Linked DNA regions of Homo sapiens: regions 1, 2 and 4 are each linked to region 3. Evidence: promoter capture Hi-C in 16 types of primary human blood cells and fetal thymus (Javierre and others, 2016). All regions are on one chromosome and are shown on one strand. Each heading gives the region's core, a stretch centred on a gene start or on the middle of the fragment in contact. The rest is flanking DNA. Distances are from core to core; before and after follow the strand shown. Region 1 holds the start of SAP130 (Sin3A associated protein 130). Region 2 overlaps SAP130 (Sin3A associated protein 130). Region 3 holds the start of FAM168B (family with sequence similarity 168 member B). Region 4 has its middle 58 kb from the start of MGAT5.

Region 1 (2,700 bases), core at 110-2,609, 3.1 Mb before region 3:
GTATGTCATAGGAACATTCGGAGGAAGATATCCAGCCCTAAGAAAAGATCCGATATCTTACATCCAGACCCGATGCAAAAGGAATTCTCCAATGCTTTTCGGCAAAGGCCTCCATTTACGGATTTCCTTTTCCTTCTCTTCCACAGATCCCCTCACAGAGCCAGAGGACCCTACACCTTCTCCATCTTCCCTAAAATCGCCCCCCACTTTTCCCTCAGGAGCCAAGCGATCTCCCGATTCGCCCGCAACCCCACCCCACCGCGAAGCCCCCGCTGAGACCGGAGGACGCCGGTTTCCAGACACCTCGGAGTGTGAGACCCCCGTCTCCGGGGTGGGGGTGCGGACGGGCGATCTGGGGACCCGACCACAAGACGAGCACTGTGCCTCTTTACCTGTAGCCGCCGCCCGCCGCCCGCACCGCCCGCTTCTATCTCGCCGGCCTGGGGGTGCCGCGGAGGGCCCATCTCGGCGGCGGCGATGTGCTCGGCGGGCGCGGGGAGGGATCGCGGCGGCGGCGCCCGGGGCCCGCTGCTGTCCAGCCCCGCTGGCCCCACTCACCCCCGCCACCCGGCCGCCGCTGTGCTCGCAGTCCTCTTCCCCCGAACCTGCCCCTGCCTCCCCCGCCCGCCCATTGGCCCCACGCCCGACGCGTCAGTGGAGGCCCAGGACCAATCCACAGCGACCTGCACGTTCAGAGCCCGCCCCACCCTCCCGCCGACTGCCAGCCAATCAGGCGCGAGCCTGGCCGGGGCAGCCCAAACCCCTCGAGGCTGAGCCAATGGCAGAGGAAGACAGGCGCCCCCGGCGAAGGGGGCGGGGAGCGGGGAGGCCCCGCCTCAGCCAGGGTCTGAAAGCGGCGGGCGCAGGGCCCGGATGTGGAGAGTCACTTTAAACTGCTCCAGGAGCCAAACTCCCTGGGCCGGCCGCCCGCCCGCCCGCCCGCCCGCGCTCCCCCGGCCGCTCTGCTTCCCCGCCAAGGCCCACGTCCGCCACGCCCCCACGCCCGGGTCAGCCCACCCCTCCCGGTGCCTCTCCCTTCCTCGCCACAGGACACCCAGCCCCTGTCGCCGGCCCAACCGCCGTGACCAGCTCGCGAAAGAGCCGCGGTCCGAGCCGCAGGAGACGAGGATCCTCTGCCCTTCCCCGGGGACGCGCAACGGGACGGACGCTGCAGCCCGGCTCAGCCGCCCCGCCCCCTCGTCTCCTCCCCTTCCCTCCCGGGCGCCCGTCCCGCCATTACCTGGGTGCTGCGCCCAGTGGCCGCCGCGCCGCCTTGAGCTCGCTCCCGCGCGCTCTCCGTCTGTGGGGCCGACGTCCCCAGGCTCCGGACCCGCAGCCACCGCCGGGGAGCTAGCACTCTGCCCCCCACCCCTCACTCCAGCGCCGCTGCTTCCGCCGCCGTAACGAGCCTCCCGTCTATTGGCTGGCGCAGGCCCCGCCCCCTGCCGAGTCAGCCAGTCGCCGGTGGTCGTGAGCGGGAGAGCGGACGGGCCCGCCCCTCTGAGCCGCGGCGTCCTGTGGGAAATGTAGTCGCCGGAGTCAGGAGGGCGGGCCGCGAAGGAGGTGGAGAGCGCCGGGGCGGGGCCGCAGGCGACCCGGCCAGGGCAACACACCCCTTTGCTGTCTGAAGTCGGTTCTGCCTTTTCTCTTGGCTAAGTGAGAAGACAGTGGATCCCACCCTATGCCTTAACCTGAGGGCACTGGGTTTCATTTTCCCCGCGGGGAGGCGCGGCGCGGGAAAGGGTAATGGAGGCCAACTGCGGCGGCCAAGGGATCCGCGGGCCGGGCCAGTGTCGTGACGGTGCCCGCCTCCCTATGCCGCGAGTGGGACTCGGTGTCCCCACCGGGAACCGCGGTCGGCACAGCCTACGCGCGGCGGGAGCCGCCAGGCGCAGCGCGGGCGCGGCTCTGTGAAAGCAGGCCGGCAGGGCGCAGGGCTCTGGGCGGCCGGGGCGCACCTGCGCGCGCTTTCCGGATTATAAAGGAGCTGAAGGGGGCAGTTTTATTTTGTCATTTTGCTTGGGGTTCAGGGTTGGAGTTTATGCACCTGTAGAAGACTTAGCCATATCTTTTGAGGCCACATTTGTGTCTGATAAGAGATTAAGTCTCCCTCTTCCCTTACCAGATGGTAATTTAGGCCTGGAGTTTTGTGATTAGTTAGGAAATAAATGGGGCTCAAACCCCCCTCTTCCTATCATGCACAGCTGTGTAAGACAACTGCTTGGTTAGAAGAGAGTAGCTCCTGGCTATAGCCCAGGGATGAGTCTCAGATACTCCTCCTCTTCAAGCCACTTTCCTTTTCCACCTTCATGCCTTCATTCTCAAACTTCTAAAGAGTGACTCCTGTGATAGACTTCAGCCTCCTCTCTGCCTAGGCAGTCCTTATCCCTTTTGGAGTTGCCACTCTTCTCAGACTGCTCCCCAAAAGTTGCCAACACCTACTCAACTTCAAACCCATCGGTCCTCACTTAGATCTCATCTTGTTTAGCTTACTGACCAGTAGTAATTCCTCCTCATGTCTTCCCTTGGCCTCTAGAACCAGGCTGTCTCCTGCTTCTACTCCTATGTCAAGCTCCATTATACCTCCTCTTTCTCATAAATACAGCATTCTTCAGGGCTCCAACACGCTAATGCTATACTGCCTTCCTAAATGGTTTAATGTATTTCCACAGTTTCAAATGTCATCCTTTTTGTTTTTTG
Region 2 (2,721 bases), core at 106-2,605, 3.1 Mb before region 3:
AACTCCACTAAGGCTTTCCATCATGCCCCAGCCGAGTCCATGTCCTTAGTGTGGCTCCTAAGGGCCTATGTGATCTGGAGACCCTGCTACCTCCCCAAATCTAACTCTTGCCACCTTGGCCTCACTGGTGGTCCTTATAAGTGGCAAACACAATCCTGTCTCAGAGCCTTTGCGCTCACTGTTCCCACTGCCTAGAATACTCTTCTCTCCGATAACCATATAGCTCACTCACTTCATTATATCTTTTCATTTTCTACTGAAATGTATTCTTATCAACAAAGCCCTCTCCGACCACATTACATGAAACTGTAAGTCCCCTGCACCACCCACCCTGTCACTCCCAATCCCTTTTACCCTTATTTTTTTCCAAAGCACTTTTCACCATCTAAAAAGCTACATATTTATCGCGTCTCCAGCCTGTAAAAACAGAAGCTCTGTGTGGGCAGCAATTTCTTTGTTCACAGCTTTAGCCCCAGGATTTAGAACACTACATAGCTCATTATAAAAAAAAAAAGCCACTCAATAAATATTTACTTAAATGAAGGAACGAAAGAAAAAAGAGTGAAGGAGGAGGATGGCAGGAAGGTTCAAACTTCATACTCCCCATGTATACCTAAGTGCTGAATCAGTAGCATGCGCCGCTGTCGTAGTGATGACTGGAGACTGAGCTCTGGTGGCTGAGACAGTTGCTACCACAGCAGGAGGGATGGCATTGGAGGTGGTCACAGGTGGCCGAGACTACCAAAAGAGAAAAAACAGTTCATTTAAAACAAAAATAAAATAGAGGAAGTCAAATACTAAATGTGTAATTTGAAACTTGAGCCTACAGATAAGCATGTTTCTGCCCAAGTAAAAATAAATTCTCACCATTCCAATTAAGGAATTCTCTTTTCAGATAGGTTGTTATAAGACCAAGAGCCAGGCCGGGCACGGTGGCTCACGCCTGTAATTCCCAGCACTTTGGGAGGCTGAGGTGGGCAGATCAACTGAGATCAGGAGTTAAAAGACCAGCCTGGCTAACACAGTAAAACCCTGTCTTGACTAAAAATACAAAAAAAATTAGCCGGGTGTGGTGGCACGCGCCTGTAATCCCAGCTACTCAGGAGGTTGAGGCAGGAGAATCGCTTGAACCTGGGAGGCAGAGGTTGCAGTGAGCCAAGACCGCACCATTGCGCTCCAGCTTGAGCAACAAGAGAGAAACTGTCTTGAAAAAATAGAAAAGAAAAAAAAAAAAGACTAAGAGTCAGAATTATTAAAAAAAAAAAATCCCTTAAGATACCACTGACAAGTGTTTTGAAAAAAAAAAAAAAATCCCATTTTGATTGAACAGTACATGAGTCCCTCCTGTACAAATGTGATTGGAGTCAAAATTCTGCCCTACTATTGGTACCAATGGGATCTCACCCTTCAATCTAGAGTTGCCACAGGTCTGTTGTTGGTCCTGGTGTAGACATTTTACGCTGCCATCCAACCCAGCACCTCCACAGAGGGCCTACTCAGCTGCTGAATAGAGCTGTTGGCTCTCAGGCCATCTACGTTAGTGAGTACAAGGGCAACTCAAGGTAACAGTATTCTTTTCTAGGTAATCGTTCAGGGTGCCCATATCCTTTCTGGATGTTTTCACATGGACAGAGTGCCCTTATCACACTTACGTGTGAAATCTTCCTCTAAAAAATAAGCTCCACACTGGGCTTCATCCACATACCCACCATTATTCTTCGAATCACCTGAGTTCTGATTCTTCCCTTGCTCTTAACCCTGAAACATGCATCTAAATGGCCGAGCTCTGCCCATTCCTCATCCTTGCTTTTCATCTACAGCCCTTTTACCTGCCGCTTCTACCATGTGCAGGTGCGTGTCTCACACTAGGGCTACAGCACCAGCTTCCTCACTCGGGAGCTCCTTGTCTTGGTTCTCGTCTTCCTCCAACCCTTCATATGTATCACATATACTACTAGAGGCCTAATACTCCTCCGACTCTGTTTTCTTGGCCAGAAAAGTATTTATCTTGAAAGCTGTAGGCTAGACAGATACTACCCAGTATCATAATCAAGACTTCCTTATTATCTTAAACCCAGTTGTTTCATACATCTGTCTGTCCCCTGAAAGTGCTTAAGGGGACAGACCTCCTGTATGTGATTCAGCTAGATTAATCTTATCTTTCTTATTTTTTGTGAGATGGAGTCTCACTCTCTCGTCCCAGCTAGAGTGCAGTGGCACGATCTTGGCTCACTGCAACCTCTGCCTCTCGGACTCAAGTGATTCTCCCACCTCAGCCTCCCAGGTAGCTGGGATTACAGGCACGCACCACCATGCCCAGCTAATTTTTTGGCATTTTAGTAGAGACAGGGTTTCACCATGTTGCCCAAGGCGGTTTCAAACTCCTGATCTCAGACAATCCGCCCGCCTTGGCCTCCCAAAATGCTGGGAATTACAGGTGTGAGCCACTGCGCCTGGCCTAATCTCATCTTTCAACAGTATTACTTTAATGATACACAGAGCCATTGTGTTAAAAAGACAAAAATGATTTTTGGCCGGGCACAGTAGCTCACGCCTGTAATCCTAGCACTTCAGGAGGCCGAGGCAGGCAGATCACTTGAGGTCAGGAGTTCGAGACCAGCCTGGCCAACAGGGTGAAATCCTGTCTCTACTAAAAGTATAAAAATTAGCCGGGCATGGTGGTGCACACCTGTAGTCCCAAGTACTTGGAAGGCTGAGGCA
Region 3 (2,700 bases), core at 40-2,539:
ATCCAGGAAAAGAAACTGTCTAAGACAACTTGGGTATAATTTCCCTTTAAACTACGGAACTCCACCAAAGTAAGCCTGCTTTGTAAAGACAAAGAGAAGCAAGATCTTCACAATTTCTGCAACACTAGCTTCAAAATTAGAATAGCCTTACACTGCTCAAATCTTGGCTGTCAAAGCAAAAATAACCCACTCCTTCATCTACAAGAGCTTAAAAATGTGTCCTGTTTTTGCCAAAACCAAAAAGTTTTATTTAATCTAGAATCTTTCATCCATAGTATTTGAGAAAAGTGATCTCAAATTACACAAGGATGACCTGAAAGTTTAAGGAGTGGAAACTATATAAACCTTTTTATTTATAAAGCTTCCTTGCATGCGAAAACACTGCAAAATATTCTTGTTTGACTTTAATGATTAAACATTAACTCAAACAGCCCATGAGATGCACACTTCATGTTCACATACACTATAAAACAGAAATACCCTTATTTGTGGACGTCGTAAAGGCGCACTGCACTCTTTTTTCAAAGTTAACCCAGGCTAGGCCACGAAACGTCCTTTCTGAAGGAAATCTTAAAAATCTGTAATTTAAATCGTGCCTTTTCAAGCTGGAAGGAGAACGCTCAGATTCCGCCAAGCAAAAAAATAAAAATAAAAATTATCTTTACTTCGTGGGTAGACAAAGTGAGCAGTTACACATTGGAAATGACTATTGTCACAAAGCTCTGCCCCCGGGTTTCACGCTCGCATTCCTGACGGCTGTGACCCCGACCTTTAGGAGAACGCCCCGCGCCGCGAAGCCACCTCGGCCACCTAGGCGGCAGGCCCGCGCCGCCCGGACCGCACCTGCACGCGTACGTGTCCGGCCGAGCTCCGCCCCCGGCCCCCGCCCGGCCTTGCCCGCGGCACAAAGCGCAGCCCAGGCCGGTCCAGACGCCCAGCGACCCCGAGCCGCGGGCCGACCTTGGCGCCGCCCCGAGCCGGCCGCACAAAGCGCCGCACTTCCGGCCTGGACGCGCAGTCGCCCGCTGCCCGCCCCCACTCACCGCGCCGCGGCGGCGACCTGGGCCTCAGTGACCAGCGCACGCCGGCCCGCGGCGGGCTTGGCCGTGGGGCGAAACAAGGGGGGCGTGCCGAGGAGACCTGCTACGATAAGAGGCTGACCCTCCGAGCCCCGCGTCTCCGCCGCCTCCCGGACGCCGCGCTCCCGCTCGCTCGGCTCCGCTTGGCCCGGCCCGCCTCTCCGCAGCCCGCGCTCCCCGCCGACGCTGCGCAGCCACCGGAGCCGCCGACCTCACTTCCGCCTGAGCGCGCCGCGACGGGGGCGCGCCGGGCACGTGACTGCGCAGCGTGCTCGCTCCCGCCGGCGCCCTCGAGACGCCCGGATGGACGAGCGCGAGCGCGAGCGCGGAGTGGGCCGGTCCCAGTTGGCGAAAGGGCCGGGTGTAGCTGTAGTTTTTTTATTAACTGTCTGTGAAAAAAGTATTTAATTTATATTTTGAGATAGTCCCGCGCCGCAGAAACCTTTGTGTGTGCCCAGACGCCAGGGCGCGGATCCTCAGGCCGCACCCGGGAGTCGAGCACACCCCGGGTGACCGCCACTACGGGGTCGGAGCGGGGCGGAGCTCAGCTCACAGATTCTTTGCCAGTGCGGAGGCTGCGGGCGCCCGCTCAGGAGTGCAGATTTTAGAGAATGCAAGTCAGCGTTTCAAGTGTAGAAGTGCGGGATCATTTCTATAGACAAGAGTTCAGGGAAGTGTACTAGAATGTTAGGGGGTTTTTTGGTTTTTTTTTGAGACGGAGTTTCGCTCTTGTCACCCAGGCTGGAGTACAATGGCGCGATCTTGGCTCACTGCAACCTCCGCTTCCCGGGTTCAAGCGATTCTCCTGCCTCAGCCTCCTGAGTAATTGAGATTCCAGGCGCCCGCCACCACACCTGGCTAATTTTTGTGTTAGTAGAGACGGGGGTTTCACCATGTTGGTCAGGCTAGTCTCGAACCCGTGACCTCAGGTGATCCACCCACGTTGGCCTCCCAAAGTGCTGGGATTACAAGTGTGAGCCACCGCACCCGGCCAAATGTTAGTATTTTTATGTAAGGCTTAGTGTATAGTTACAATGATTTGGTTAGTTCAGGGTGTCTCTCTGGGGGAGGTATGTTTATTATTTCGTATTAAAGAGGTGCGTGTCTTGGTGTTTGTGTTTGGGGTGTCGTCTGGTCTGAGCTAGGTACAGGACGACAAAGGAGGGAGTTATTGCAATAAAGATTAGTGATGGAAGGGAGGAGGCCTGGCTCTGGTCTTTTTTCAGTCGTTTATGAAATAAAAACAGATGGGCGCGGTGTCTCACGCCTTTAATCCCGGCACTTATAGGAGGCCGAGGCGGGCAGATCACGAGGTCAGGAGTTCAAGACCAGCCTGGCCAACATAGTGAAACCGCGTCTCTACTAAAAATACAAAAATTAGCTGCGCGTGGTGGCGCACATCTGTAACCTTAGCTGCTCTGGAGGCTGAGGCAGGAGAATCTCTTGAACCCGGGAGGCGGAGGTTGCAGTGAGCCGAGATCGGGCCACTGCACTCCAGCCTGGGCGACAGAGGAAGACTCCGTCTCAAAAAAAAAAATAAAAATAAAATATAAATGTGATAAAAGGACAAGAAGAAAACATGGGGAAATTCCTTTTTAGTATTGGAGTAAAGAAGGCTTTT
Region 4 (2,700 bases), core at 106-2,605, 3.1 Mb after region 3:
CCAGATTGTGAAATAATGCCCCCTTCACCAGGACTTTGGAGAGACAGGAGTGTTCTCCAAATCTGCCCTCACTTCATGTACTGTTCAAGGCCCTGGTGGAATATCTTCCATGAGCATTTGCGCCCCTTCTTGATATTTGGTATTTTGTGGTTCAGGTGGTTCATGTTGCTGTAAGAACCTCACTTCTGGAAGCTGATAATGCAGTTGAAGTTGGGTGCTCTTTTACTAATATCTAGTCTTTTCTCTGTAGTCTGAGTGGATTGTTCAGACTTAAAAGGTCCAGCAGCATTTTATTTGTGACTGGCTGTGAAAGTCACATACCTATTTTATTTTTATGGCCTCTGATCTCAAATATCCCCCAGAACACAGTCGGCATCCATATAATGCATAGTGGAGGTTGTTAACCTCCAGGACTGAAACACCATTTGGAATATTCCTGTGAACAGTTTGGATTCCTTCAGGTTCCTAAACCAATGGCTCATTTCTCACCCACCTAAGAGGGTGACTTGAATCTGAATTAGCAGGTACTGTGTTAGACTTCAAACCTTATTAGTCATAAACAAATTTAATACTCCTTTACATTTTTAACTCAGAAAAAAGATTCAAGTGTGAATTTTCTGTTTCTAGACAAGGATTTATCTTCTCAAAAGTTCTGAAATCGCCTTTCAGTTTTAGTCTAGGCATTCTGTTGAACAATTCTTATGTTTTTATCTGCTTAAGTTGGAGTATACTTTCCTAGAATTATCCTAGAAATGATAAGAAAGATCTAAAGCTTTAAATTCTGGAGTCTGAAATATCCCATAATACCCTGTTTTTATCTCCCATATCGGCTGCAGCAGGTGGTTTCATAATTTATGTACGTAGGTTTCCGTTTGCTTCACTAGGCTACTTGTGGATGAGTGTCCTTTGGCCTTACTCATTTTTTAATTCCTAGTACCTACTGCATTAAGTGAATCTCATTGTAAAGTTCACCTAGCGCCTTTTTAACGTCTATAATCTTTTCTGTGTTTGATGTCTGGTGTGCGTGAGCCTGTGTTTTAGGAAGAACTTGGAAAAACTTCTTAATGGCTGGGTAATCTTATTTTCCGTAGTGGATTTTATTTGTGACAATTGTATTAAGAAATGGACTTTATTCTGTGTGCTGTGCTGGAGAATGTACTGGAAGACCAGAGGGGTCTAGGCTTTGCAGTGCCTATAACTGGCTTGTGATCTCCAGCAAGTCACTTAATATATCTGAGTGTCTAGAACAAATGGTCTAGAAAACCCCATTCCAAAAATTCCAGGGTAAAAAGTCAGGATGATCCTCATGAAACTAAAAGCAACTTTTTCCCCAACATATTATTCAAGGTGTAGTTCCCTGGAGGCTCCTCTGTAGCACTCTGGACATGGTGCTCTTCGGAAGTTGAATTTGCTCATTGCCTCTGTTGTTTCTTAACCATTAGTTAGACATTTAGTCTCTATGCCAAGCTGTAAACAAGTTAGCAGAAGTGGAAATTTTTGTGGAGCATAGAATTAATTGGTTTGGATATGCCTGTGCTTGGGAATTTACCTATTGTTGGTGTTTGAAAGTATATTTTTCCCCTTTCTTTGAAACGATTTTAGGCCGTTGCTTCTGGTACTCAAGTACCAGTATGGAGGGTCTGAATGTGTGGTATATGGCCTTTTCTTTCAGATCTTAAGGCTTAAAAAAAAAAAAAACTATGGATCCAAGGGAGCTTTTTAAAACACTCTTTAAAATACGTGTTTTGTTTTCTATTTAATGTAGGATTCATTTTCAAAGCAAAGTGATCATTTAAAAATATGACAGCCCAGATTTGTTAATGAGCTAGCAAATGGTTGCTGTTAAGTGCAAAATTGTTTTCCCATAAGGTTCAACTCCTAATGATAGTCGATGCTTGTAAGTGACATGGATCTTTAGCTCCGCTTTTATAGTTTAGAGCAAGCTTGTCCAGACTGCGGGCCACCTGTGGCCCAGGACGGCTTTGAATGCGGCCCAACACAAATTTGTAAAGTTTCTTAAAAAATGGAATTTTTTTTTAGCTCATCAGGTTTCCTTACTGTTAGTGTATTTTATGTGTGGCCCAAGACAGTTCTTCTAGTGCGGCCCTTTGGTGAAGCCAAAACATTGGCTGCCCCTAGTTTAAAGGCTATGTCTCCTATCTCATATTTTAATAGGCTAAGTTGTACTAGTTTAACAGGAATATGTGTGTTTGATTTACAAGGGGATTTCCTAAAGTTGTGGCCTCTGCCTTTGAATTTTCAACTACTTTAAAAAATACTCTTAAGGACAACCTTAACACAGTTCAATGATTTCTTAATTAGTTCATCAAATATTTATTGAGTTTTTACTGTGCCAGGTACTGGGATGTATGTGGTGGATGGTATGGGGGGTGGTCAGGGATACAAAGATGAAAAACTGCTTCTGCCTTTAGGAACTCTGCAGATTGGTGGGTTGGCAGGTATGTATGCCCCAATATACTTCAGTCAATATTTCAAAGTCTTCCAAGCCCTTAGGAGTTGGAACATTTTTACGTTTGAACTTGACCGTGATGTTGTGGAATTTTCTAGCTCAGGAAGGGCCTTCTAGGCAGGAGAAACAGCATTAGCATTACGAGGTGATGCTAGACCTGTTCCAGAAATTGAGTAATTTATATGAGAGAGTCTGGTAGAAAATTCAATTCAAAAGGTCGGTTGAGACAT

The links. The method cuts DNA at HindIII sites, captures the fragments that hold promoters and counts their contacts. A CHiCAGO score of 5 or more calls a contact.
Region 1: the fragment with the promoter of SAP130 here is called in contact with the fragment with the promoter of FAM168B in region 3 in 1 of 17 cell types (monocytes); the score reaches 5.4 in monocytes.
Region 2: a fragment that was not itself captured here is called in contact with the fragment with the promoter of FAM168B in region 3 in 1 of 17 cell types (M0 macrophages); the score reaches 5.4 in M0 macrophages.
Region 4: a contact is called between a fragment that was not itself captured here and the fragment with the promoter of FAM168B in region 3, in 1 of 17 cell types (total CD4 T cells). The highest score is 8.2, in total CD4 T cells.

The regions. Positions count from the first base shown.
Region 1 is chr2:128,026,700-128,029,399 of GRCh38, forward strand. It overlaps SAP130 (Sin3A associated protein 130), which reads right to left and starts at 1,360. Exons shown (of 21, transcript NM_001330301.2): 1 at 1,241-1,360. RefSeq lists silencers at 338-627, 688-1,027, 1,128-1,647, 1,898-2,047. The HindIII fragment of the contact is 20,582 bases long and covers 1-2,700 here.
Region 2 is chr2:128,009,656-128,012,376 of GRCh38, forward strand. SAP130 (Sin3A associated protein 130) reads right to left here. Exons shown (of 21, transcript NM_001330301.2): 7 at 614-738. Among named protein-coding and RNA genes, the nearest start is that of SAP130, 17 kb to the right of the region's middle. The HindIII fragment of the contact is 6,120 bases long and covers 1-2,721 here.
Region 3 is chr2:131,092,171-131,094,870 of GRCh38, forward strand. It overlaps FAM168B (family with sequence similarity 168 member B), which reads right to left and starts at 1,290. Exons shown (of 7, transcript NM_001009993.4): 1 at 1,044-1,290. RefSeq lists a silencer at 744-1,463. The HindIII fragment of the contact is 2,381 bases long and covers 360-2,700 here.
Region 4 is chr2:134,194,719-134,197,418 of GRCh38, forward strand. It overlaps a transcript of MGAT5 not described here. Among named protein-coding and RNA genes, the nearest start is that of MGAT5, 58 kb to the right of the region's middle. The HindIII fragment of the contact is 1,171 bases long and covers 771-1,941 here.